Regions from separate parts of the Homo sapiens genome. Here regions 1, 2 and 3 are each linked to region 4. Evidence: promoter capture Hi-C in 16 types of primary human blood cells and fetal thymus (Javierre and others, 2016). All regions are on one chromosome and are shown on one strand. The core of a region is centred on a gene start or on the middle of the fragment in contact, and the rest is flanking DNA. Distances in the headings are between cores, read along the strand shown.

Region 1 (2,700 bases), core at 162-2,661, 170 kb after region 4:
TTTCTTACCTGAAGTCTAAATTCCTAGAAGTCTTAATTCCTAGAATTCTCCTCCTACAATATTTTCTTCCTATCTGCCTCAGCTACTCAATCCTACGATCAAAGTCTATGATCATAGCCTAGACCACCTGTTTTCAAACATTTGGGTTAGGGACTCTTTATACTCTTAAATATTAAGCCAACCTGAAAGAACACCCAATGGCCAAAGCTGGAACAATCCAAGCAACAGAACAAGTAATGTAGTACTGCATTATAACCCAAAGTATAAAATAAACATACATGAGGCCATACTCATATAAATAAATGATTAAATAAATAAGAGAATAGGAGATAAAGTTTCCTTACGGAAGAATTCCCAGTAACAGATGTAGACACTATCTCTTCCAGGAGGTAGAGCTTAGTCCTTGCTCCCCCATTGAGAGTGCACTGGACATAGCTATTCACTTGCAAAAAAAGAGAGTACGGAAAGAGGAAAAGAGTAACTGTATAGTGGTGAAACCGGGCAAGCACTGCCTTGATCTAAGCTAACATCAACACGACGTCATGTGAATATCAAGTACCATTCAAAATGATTACAGACATGAGCCACCGTGCCTGGCCCCTGGTAAGTTCCTTTTAACTATAAAAGTAAGAATATCTTTAGAAGAGAAAGTATGGCTGGGTGCGGTGGCTCACGCCTGTAATCCCAGCACTTTGGGAGGCTGAGGCAGGAGGATCACTTGAGGTTAGGAGTTTGAGAAAGACTGGCCAACACAGTGAAACCCCTCTGTACTAAAAATACAAAAATTAGCCAGGCATGGTGGCATGTGCAGGTGATCCCAGGTACTTGGGAGGCTGAGATAGAAGAATCACTTGAACCCGGGAGGCAGAGGTTTCAGTGAGCCAGGATCAGACCACTGCACTCCAGCCTGGATGACAAAGTGAGACTCCGTCTCAAAAAAAAAAAAAAAAGAAGCAAAAATATACAAACATTAAAAATGAATCCTGAAATATCAATGCATTATGTAGGAAAGAGAATAATGGAATTCTATAAAGTATAGGATAATTTTTTTATTTCAACTTTTATTTTAGATTCAGGAGGTACATGTGCAGGTTTGTTACATGGGTATACTGTGTGATGGTGAGGTTTGGAGTACTATTGTAGGATAAGTATTTAAAGAAATAAAAAATTAAAAAGCCAACAGTGTTTACTAGCTGACATAAGCTTTTCTTTGTCCTTACCACGTACAGTACAATTGTTAAAAAAAAAAAAAAAAAAAAAAAAAAATTCTTTCCATTAGCCCTGGGCTTCAAGATGAGTAACAGTTCTGACTAAAGGTATCAGTAAAGCTTAGATAGGACAAAAAGCAAACTGGCCACAAAATGATTTAAAAACTGTTTCTCTCTACCAGCAAGCAGCAAGAGGCTCTCTACAAGTTGCTAACCCACCCCCACATTTCATATATAATATGTAACCTATTAACATCTATGCCAAAGACTTGACTATATAACTCTGCAAGCTTTATAAATCTAATTAGACATCTCTAGTAATATTCAAAATATACTTGCATTTGTAAAAACTTTATTCTTCTCAAAGATAAAAGAGACAATTAAAATACATGTTTCCTGCTGTGTAACTAACTTCCTATTTTTGCCAAACATGTTCCGGAGCAGAATATTTAAAATTACATTAGAAGGCTTGCTAGGAGTCTATGTAGTATTTCACTAGCCCAATAAGTCTGTATAACATTAATTTTTTATATTTTCAATGTACAATAAAACCTTTCTAAGTCAAATGTCTTATTCTTCAATTCCCACATTATGTTATTAATAACAATTACCAAAATTTATCTTTTAGTGTTGTCATCAGAGACATATAACATTTTAATTATTTTATAAGAATATTTTAAAAGTATTTGTAACTTTCACTGTAAAACTCTAAAAATTTCCTTATTCCTATCTTTTACATCATCCCCTTCACCATTAAGCACTAACGACAAACTACTATAAAACTTTTTATAACCATTTGTTTTATATATCATTATGAAGCTTAAGTTTCTATAAATTTATAGAGCAACCAAATTTCTATAAATGGATTGTGACACATCACGAAATTTTAAACTTCTCTCCTATGCAATGAGGCCATTGCTGTAGTTAAATTAAGCGCTACCAGAAGATTATCAAGAATTCCTGGGTGAATTTCAGGAAAACAGAATGGAGAGAAATGTTCAGATTATGTTACAGAATAAAATTAATTTAATTTTAGGATTTTGCTGCTTAGAAACTGACCAATCAATTGTGAAGGAGGACAGTATATGTGCTGTTGCTTAAAAAGAAGTGTTGATGCCTCACTGCCTACCTAGGTCATCAAGTAAATAAAGCTGCCTCTCAAGGCACCAGGAGAAGTAATATAATTCATAGTAAGAGAGGTTTGGGAAGTCTTTCCAAAGGCCTATTACTTAGGCCTATTTTCCCCAAAAATCACAAAACAAGTGTCTGATTATCAAGAATAGAACATAGGTTTTTACTCTATAAAATGGTTTTTGGCTAAACCATCTTTTGCCTACCCCAAGGACAAATAAGATCATGTTGGGATATCAGTGTGCTGTGGCAACCAGCCCAGTGTGTTTCTGTTGGAAAAGCTAGAACAATTAGAAGGTAAGAAGTTCTTTCTTCTCATTTCCCATTTCTATCTTCCTGTTCTTCTCAGATCCTCCATGAC
Region 2 (2,700 bases), core at 49-2,548, 250 kb after region 4:
GAAGGAAAACAGGAAACAGGGGAAGGGAAAGGTGGATGGTGAGAAACTTGTGCTCCAAGGTGGTCATTTTGCCTATTTGAGATTCCAGGTCAGTTCTGCCAAGTGTCTTCACCTCGAGATTTCCTGGCATGATTAGGAGAATGGAGCGCTAAGGTCCTTGGGGGAGAGAAAGAGAGAGAGAGAGATCCTAATGTGCACTCCAAAGCCTACATTGGTACCTATGTAACATGGACACGGAGTTGAAAGCCACAAGCCTGCCATGGGGCCTGCTGTGGCACTGGGATAGATGATCCCACAGCAAAAGTCTTCAGGATGAATAGCCTGACTGGGGGCTGGATAAGGGAGAGATTCAGAAAGGTCTCTAGCCAGAGAGAGCTGAAGGTAGGCCAAGCCAACAAGGAAGGGTGACTAGGGCTTGACTAAACCAGGAAAAAATAGACAACTTTAGCAGCCACTGAAGTCTAACGCCAAAACTTGGGTGAACTTCAATAGGCACTAATCAATGCACACTCAAGAACCAAGATTAAGGCCATAGAGACCCCTCTTCCCGCCCTATATCGTAAGAATACAATAAACTATACCCCTCCCCCACGTACTTCCAGGTAGGAAGGCAATGAAGGGGTGAAAATGGGAGAAGTCTGAGAACCTGAGAATTACATAAGGGGTGGTTTAAACGACTGGATCAGAATACATTTTAAACCAGATTAATTTGTGTTTTTTGGTTTTGTTTTTCTTTCCCACCACCTACCAGGTCACAAGACTAAATAAGCTCTAAACAAAATAAAGAAATTAAATCACTTCTAAATTTCTGTATCACAAGTAATTTTGCAACCCTGCTACAAAAACACTCAAATAAATAATAAGTTCACATTATATTGCATTTGACCCCAAAAACAAAAGATTCTTTCATGACTCAGAACTTTGCTATAAAGTCATTTATGTGAGGCTTTTGTGCATGAAGAATGATCGTGACTATTTGCACTTATATATCTAACATTTTAATCTCATAGATTTATTAAGAGTGGAAGATTACATTATTTACTCACAATTCTTTCCCTCCCCACCTTTGCATGGTTCACTGTAGGTAAAGCCTTCTACTCCTTTGGATTATTTTGTTTTTGTTTTTGAGACAAGGTCTTGCTCTGTCACCCAGGCCGGAGTGCGTGGCTCAATTATAGTTCACTGCAGCCTCAGCCTCCCAAGCTCAAGTGATCCTCCCACCTCAGCCTCCCAAGTAAGTGGGAGTACACACGTATGCCATCGTGCCTGGCTGATTATTTATGTATTTATTTATTTATTTTAGATATGGAGTCTTCCTACATTGCCCAGGCTGATCTCAAACTCCTGGGCTCAAGCAATCCTCCCACCTTGGCCTTCCAAAGTGCTGGGATTACAGGCAGGAGCCACCATGCCCAGTCATTCTACTCCTTTGATGTTGGGCTTGGCCACATCTCTTGCTTTAGACAATGGAATGTGGGTGGAAAAGAGAACATGTCCATTTTTAGCCATCACATTTCCATTCTCCTCCCTTACTCTTCTGCCATCTGCCATGAGAATAACCCTAGGTAACCATTGGTCCCAGAATAGAAACACGTAAAACATACTAAACTCACAGACTGAAGGAGAACCTCCCCAGCCCACCTGCAGGTCAGGAATATAAAATAAGTAATTTGGGAGTTTTTCATATGTCAATATTGCAGCAAAAACCTGACTGATACATTAAGCAGTTAATATTTCTTTAAATATTAAATGGTTACTGTAAACATTCATATACTATTCATACAACTGATAAACCAAATAACAGATCTAACAACTTAAAATTTCCCAGCTATGGCCAGGCGCGGTGGCTCACGCCTGTAATCCCAGCACTTTGGGAGGCCAAGGCGGGTGGATCACGAGGTCAGGAGATCGAGACTATCCTGGCTAACACGGTGAAACCCCATCTCTACTAAAAATACAAAAAAAAAAACAAAACAAAACATTAGCCAGGCGTGGTGGTGGGTACCTGTAGACCCAGCTACTCAGGAGGCTGAGGCAGGAGGATGATGTGAACCCGGGAGGCGGAGCTTGCAGTGAGCCGAGATAGCGCCACTGCACTCCAGCCTGGGCGACAGAGTGAAGCTCCGTCTCAAAAAAAAAAAAAAAATTTCCCAGCTATTCAAACACTGATTATAAACTTCTTTAATTATATGCTAAATAATTACTTAAAATCACAAATTTAATATATCAGGTTCTTGTAAATGTTTTAAACAACTTAAACTAGAGACAAAGCACTCATGCAATATTATACTGATCACCAAAACTGCAGGATTTGGGTGGTTGAATGATTGTTTCTCCATTGGATTTGGAATCTGATCACACAGCCCAAAATAATTCATCTTTAAATTACTAGAACTTAAATTAAACCTCTATTACAACTAAAATTCACTTTTGCTTCTAATCAATTGCCTTTCCTATAGATTTGAATTTTCCAATGCATGGTTTCTCTCTACAAAATGATAAATTATCTCATGTTTTCTATGTCTGCCTGTACCTAACCAATAGTCCTGCCACTCTAATATGATGGTCTGGCCTGAAGGTATAAAGGGAGACTTCTGTCTCATGAATATCTCATAATAATAAGTAGCATATCTAGTTCAGGGTTTTGCAAACTTCACGGTGCATGCAAATCACCTGAGAAGCTTGTTAACGTATATACTC
Region 3 (2,700 bases), core at 189-2,688, 210 kb after region 4:
GAAACGTAGGCACTAGGATTTTCTTAACACCCCCTAGGTGATTACGATGTGCAGCCAGGGTTGAGAATCACTCATCCAAAGGTTCTACCAACCACACTTGAACACATATATTTTTAACTTCACTGGGAATACCTGTTACTAGTAATACAGTATTATAGTACACATAAGGCCTTACTGTTTGCTGCCCACCTGCTCCCTCTCCCCATGATTCCTCTTTAACTTCTCCTTGAGCAGAATATCCAAGATAGTGGTTTGCTGGCGCAAGCACACGTGTGCGTGTGTATGTGTGTGTGTTTAGCAGCAAAGCTTTCTGTTCTTTTTCCAAATGAAGTTTCCTTCAGAATAACAAATGACACCGAACAAAGCCAACCCGACAGATCTGAAGTGGAGTGAAGAGGGCCTCAAGCCCCTCTGCTCTCCTATTCCTTCTCCATCATTATCGGAACCCCAGGCTTCCCAAAGCACCATTTTATTTTACTTTATTTTATTTTATTGAGACAGAGTCTCTCTCTGTTGCCCAGGCTGGAGTCAGTGGCATGATCTTGGCTCACTGCAACCCCTGCCTCCCGAATTCAAGTGATTCTCCTGCCTCAGTCTCCCAAGTAGCTAGGATTACAGGTGTGTACTACCACACCTGGCTTATTTTTTTATTTTTTTAGTTGAGATGGGGTTTTGCCATGTTGCCCAGGCTGGTCTCAAACTCCTGACCTCAAGTGATCCACCTGCCTCGGCCTCCCAGAATGCTGGGATTACAAGCATGAGCCACCACACCCCTCCCCAAAGTACCGTTTTAAATCTGTCTCTCAGACACTAGAGAACGTCATTGTCTCACTGACTGGCTGCCAAGAGAAGTCACATATCAAACGAGATGGAAAGGCCCCCAGAACAATCTGCTGAATTCATGCAACACTCAACTCCAGCCAGGAAGTCCTGGATCTACTTCCGCTCGCCCATGACCATGCTATGAAACACCAATAACTGTGGAAATTTAGAAGAAGGCTCTCCTCCAACTCCCAGAGTGGCTAATTCTAAGCAGAGCCTTTTCTACTTTTTTTTTTTTTTTTTAAGATGGAGTTTCCTTCTTGTTGACCAGGCTGGAGTACAATGGCGTGATCTCGCTCACTGCAACCTCCGCCTCCCGGGTTCAAGCGATTCTCCTGCCTCAGCCTCCCAAGTAGCTGGGATTATAGGCATGCGCCAGCACAACGGGCTAATTTTTTTGTTTGTTTTTTGAGACAGAGTCTCACTCTGTCGCCCAGGCTGGAGTGCAGTGGCGCAATCTCGGCTCACTGCAAGCTCTGCCTCCCGGGTTCACACCATTCTCCTGCATCAGCCTCCCAAGCAGCTGGGACTACAGGCGCCCACCACCACACACGGCTAATTTTTTTTTTTTTTTTTTTTTTGTATTTTTAGTAGAGATGGGGTTTCACCGTGTTAGCCAGGATGGTCTCGATCTCCTGACCTCGTGATCCGCCCGCCTCGGCCTCCCAAGTACTGGGATTACAGGCATGAGCCACCGCGCCCAGCCTTGTATTTTTTTTAGTAGAGACGAGGTTTCTCCATGTTGGTCAGGCTGGTCTAGAACTCCCTCCCGACCTCAGGCAATCCACCCGCCTCGGCCTCCCAAAGTGCTGGAATTACAGGCGTAAGCCACCGCGCCCGGCCTAAGCAGAGCCTTTTCTAATGGTTGAAAAATGAAGCAAACTTTACAGTGTGCTCCCACTCTCTTATCTGCTGTACCCCTGTCTCCAAATCAGGTCTCAACAAATATCTCAAGGGATCTGAAAAGGGATACCCAGTTATGAAAGGGCAACCTATGGCCTGAAAGGAATGTGTGGAGTGAAGGAGCATAGTTTTGACAACTTTGCTTTGGTGATTTTGGGAAGTGGTTGTGGGCAATTGGCATATGAATCTTGTTTTTTGTTGAAAACAAAACAAAAGAGGAAAAGGCTGGCTGATAGCTGGTTGTCTCTTTGGCCACCCCTGAGGCTCAACCACTGGTTTTTTTATGTACTGGGTCCCCATTCAGGGTCTGGAACTTTGATTCATCTTTGTGATCATCATACAAAAGAGAGCTTGGATGCAGGTGGCTAAAAGCTGCAGGATGCATAAATGCTTCTATGCCTTTTAACAACCCCATGGGTAATTTTTTTTTTTTTTTTTTTGAGACGGAGTCTCTCTCTGTCACCCGGGCTGGGGTGCAGTGGAGCGATCTCGGCTCACTGCAACCTCTGCCTTCTGGGTTCAAGCAATTCTCCTGCCTCAGCCTCCCAAGTAGCTGGGACTACAGTTGTGCGCCACTATGCCCAGCTAATTTTTGTATTTTTAGTAGAGAAGGGATTTCACCATGTTGGTTAGCCAGGATGGTCTCGATCTCTTGACCTCGTGATTCTCCCTCCTCGGCCTCCCAAAATGCTGGGATTACAGGCGTGAGCCACCGCACCTGGATGGGTAATTTTATTATTTTACAAGTCAGTAAACCGATGCTTAGAGAAGTTAACCAACTTGATCAAGGTCACACAGCGGTGGAGAAGAGATTCCACCCCATACTTTTTGGGCTCCAGAGAACATAAGCTTTCCACTACGTTAGCTTATCCTGAGAGAAAGGGGTTTTGGTTGGAGGGTGAGGTAGAGAATGACCAATTTTGGAGAAGGTGTGAATTTGGAGTCGGACCAGTCCTAAATAAGTGTTCTAGAAGG
Region 4 (2,700 bases), core at 190-2,689:
AAAAAAAAAAAAAAGAAAAAGAAAAAACTACAGCCTGGCCGCGGTGATTCACACTTGTAATCCCAGCACTTTGGGAGGCCGCGCGCGGGGCGGAGGCCGGCTGGAGGGGAGGTAGCTAACTTGAGGCCAGGAGTTTGAGGCCAGCCTGGCCCACATAAGCAAAACCCCGTCTCTACTAAAAATATAAACATTAGCCGCGAGCGGTGGCTGCAAGTCTGTAATCACAGCTACTCGGGAGGCTAAGGGGGAAGGATCGCTTGATCCCGAGAGGCAGAGATTGCGGTGGGCAGAGATCGCGCCACTACACTCCAGCCTGGGCACACAGCGACTGTCTCAAAAAGGAAAAAAGGAAAAAAAAAGACAGAAAAGAAAAGAAAAAACTACAGAATAGGTCCCAGTCTGCAACCCTAACTGAAAAATATTAACAAATCCTTGCAGTAAGTGACCGAGCCTGTTGGCACCAGCCTGTAGTCCCAGCTACTTGGGAGACTGAGGTGGAAGGATCGCTAGAGCACAGGAGGGGAAGGTTGCAATGAGCCGGGATAGCGCCACTGCACTCCAGTCTGGGTGACAGAGCGAGACTCTGTCTTAAAAACAAAAACCAAAAAAACCCCAAATCCTTTAAGTGCGCTATAATGGTTAAGACTATGGGCTCTGATGCCCCACTGCCTGAGCCCCTAACTCCCTCAGTCAGCATAGCTGTGCGACCTTGGCAAAAAAGTTTCTCTACGGCTGTTTCCTCACCTGTAAAATGGGGGCAGTAATAGAAATCATCCAAACCCTTCATCGTACAGGTAAGAAAGCAGAGGCATCCAACGACTATTATTATAATCATGCTTTCATGGCAGTGGTACTTTCACGAGGTGTCTCGATTCCCTGAACAGGACTCTTTCCACTTAGGACCACATGGAGCGGTGAGGAAAAACACCCCGAGAACCACCTAGTGCTAGAGAGTGAATTAGTGACTTTCACATCCACTGGGGTCATCCAACCCTCCCTACAATCCCGAGAAATATGACCTCCACTTTAAGGATGCAAAAATAGAAAAGGAGGGATTGCAAGACTGCTTAAAGACCATGCAACTATAAAGCGATAGAACGGGAACTCGAACTCAGGTTAGATCGGCCCCACTTGACCAGACAGCCTCAGGGGCCGTGCACGGCAGTGTCCCCTATTTTTCTCTCCCTCCCCCGACGGCCAAAAATGGGGCTGCTGTCTCCGCCACCCTCTTCCCTCCAGTCACTTTCCCGGTTCTTCTCCCACTGACCCAGGTAAATCACAAGAGGGATAAAGCCCCAGCGAATGGCAAACTGGCTCCCCTTGAAGAGCTGCTGTAGTCTCTGCTTGGCCTCTTTGCTCAGCTTCACCATGGCGACGGCCGTGTGGCGCAGGGAGGACCCCTTACAGCAACCACAGCGTCGGGAATCCGAAAGGGAAAGGAGGTGCGCAGGCGCCACACACGGCCTTTACGGCAGGAGTCGTGAGCGTCGCCAGCAGAGGTCGTAATTCATCGCCTTTAACCTTCCCTGCTCTTCCGCCTCGCCGGCAGTAGTAGGCGCATGCGTGGTTGCGATCATGGCTGGCGGTAACTTCGCGTTTCTGTTACCCATTTTTAAAACGCATCTTCAGGTGTTCCTTCCTTCTCATGGAAGGAACATTAATTAAATTCAGAGGGACTGGGTTTTAGTCCTAACTCTTATTCCTACTGGCTGTGTAACCGTGGACAAATTATTTAACTTCTCAGAATCAGGTTGTTCAAACCTGAGGTTGAACTGCAAAAAGGTTACGAAGTGACACTCAGTAGGGCCCGAATCCATGTTTTCTTTGATCCCAATCTTTTTTAAAAAAATTTCTTTTAATTACTTGCCAACATTTTAGAATTTGGAAATCTCACATGAAATTCTGGACTTTTGAAGCTGAGGAATTCCATTGCAACAATCAAGGAGACTAAATAGGAAATGACACTTCTGTTTGGCCATCTTGCCCTCATTGGTTTAGAATGGCAGTGGTTCTCAACCCTGGCTGCACATTAGAATCACTTTAGGAGAGGTAAAACCATACTCACGCTGGAGACCTACTCCTAGAAATTCTAAAGAGTTTGGGGCTGGGAACTGGCCATTGATCTGCCTTTGAAGTTTCCCAAGTGATTCCCAACCTCTGATGTAATAAATTTCTGGCTGCTGTCGTATTTGAGATTTGACCCCCCCAGGTCTAAGACTTAATTGATTTTTAAGGCTGTAAGACATTTCTAAGACTTTGACTTTTAAGACTTTCCTGCCTCATTCTGAAGGTACGTAGTCGTTTTCTGTGCCCAATGTCTGTGCTCCTAAAAATTTCCCCTTGCTGACCTCTGTGGCTTGCGCCTGTAATTCTGGCTATTTGGGAGGCTGAGGCGGGAGGACCACTTGAGTTTGATGCTGCAGTGAGCTGTGATTGGGTCACTTGCTGTAAGCTCCCAAAGGGTTCACTTTGCCCGCTGCCTGGACAGAGCCGATTGATCAACACTGGGGAATTACAATAAAGAGTAATTCACGCAGAGCTGGCTGTGCAGGAGACCAGAGTTTTATTATTACTCAAATCAGTATCCCATAGCATTCGGGGATCAGAGTTTTTAAGGACAATTTGGTGCGTGGGGAGACAGCCAGTAAGTCGGAAGTGCTGATTGGTTGGGTCAGAGATGAAATCACAGGGAGTGGAAGC

What was found. The method cuts DNA at HindIII sites, captures the fragments that hold promoters and counts their contacts. A CHiCAGO score of 5 or more calls a contact.
Region 1: a fragment that was not itself captured here is called in contact with the fragment with the promoter of TOMM7 in region 4 in 3 of 17 cell types (total CD8 T cells, total B cells and naive CD8 T cells); the score reaches 6.1 in total CD8 T cells.
Region 2: a contact is called between a fragment that was not itself captured here and the fragment with the promoter of TOMM7 in region 4, in 14 of 17 cell types (activated CD4 T cells, M0 macrophages, neutrophils and 11 more). The highest score is 8.4, in activated CD4 T cells.
Region 3: a contact is called between a fragment that was not itself captured here and the fragment with the promoter of TOMM7 in region 4, in 1 of 17 cell types (megakaryocytes). The highest score is 5.1, in megakaryocytes.

What each region holds. Positions count from the first base shown.
Region 1 is chr7:22,995,359-22,998,058 of GRCh38, forward strand. All of the region lies in intron 1 of HYCC1 (hyccin PI4KA lipid kinase complex subunit 1), which reads right to left. Among named protein-coding and RNA genes, the nearest start is that of HYCC1, 17 kb to the right of the region's middle. The HindIII fragment of the contact is 170 bases long and covers 1,327-1,496 here.
Region 2 is chr7:23,067,635-23,070,334 of GRCh38, forward strand. No RefSeq gene overlaps it. Among named protein-coding and RNA genes, the nearest start is that of KLHL7-DT, 37 kb to the right of the region's middle. The HindIII fragment of the contact is 2,762 bases long and covers 1-2,679 here.
Region 3 is chr7:23,030,502-23,033,201 of GRCh38, forward strand. No RefSeq gene overlaps it. Among named protein-coding and RNA genes, the nearest start is that of HYCC1, 18 kb to the left of the region's middle. The HindIII fragment of the contact is 2,268 bases long and covers 305-2,572 here.
Region 4 is chr7:22,821,410-22,824,109 of GRCh38, forward strand. It overlaps TOMM7 (translocase of outer mitochondrial membrane 7), which reads right to left and starts at 1,440. Exons shown (of 3, transcript NM_019059.5): 1 at 1,268-1,440. The coding sequence starts at 1,370. LOC112267993 (a long non-coding RNA gene) reads left to right here and starts at 1,548. Exons shown (of 3, transcript XR_002956543.2): 1 at 1,548-2,290. RefSeq lists enhancers at 921-1,681, 1,351-1,430, 1,461-1,670. The HindIII fragment of the contact is 22,456 bases long and covers 1-2,700 here.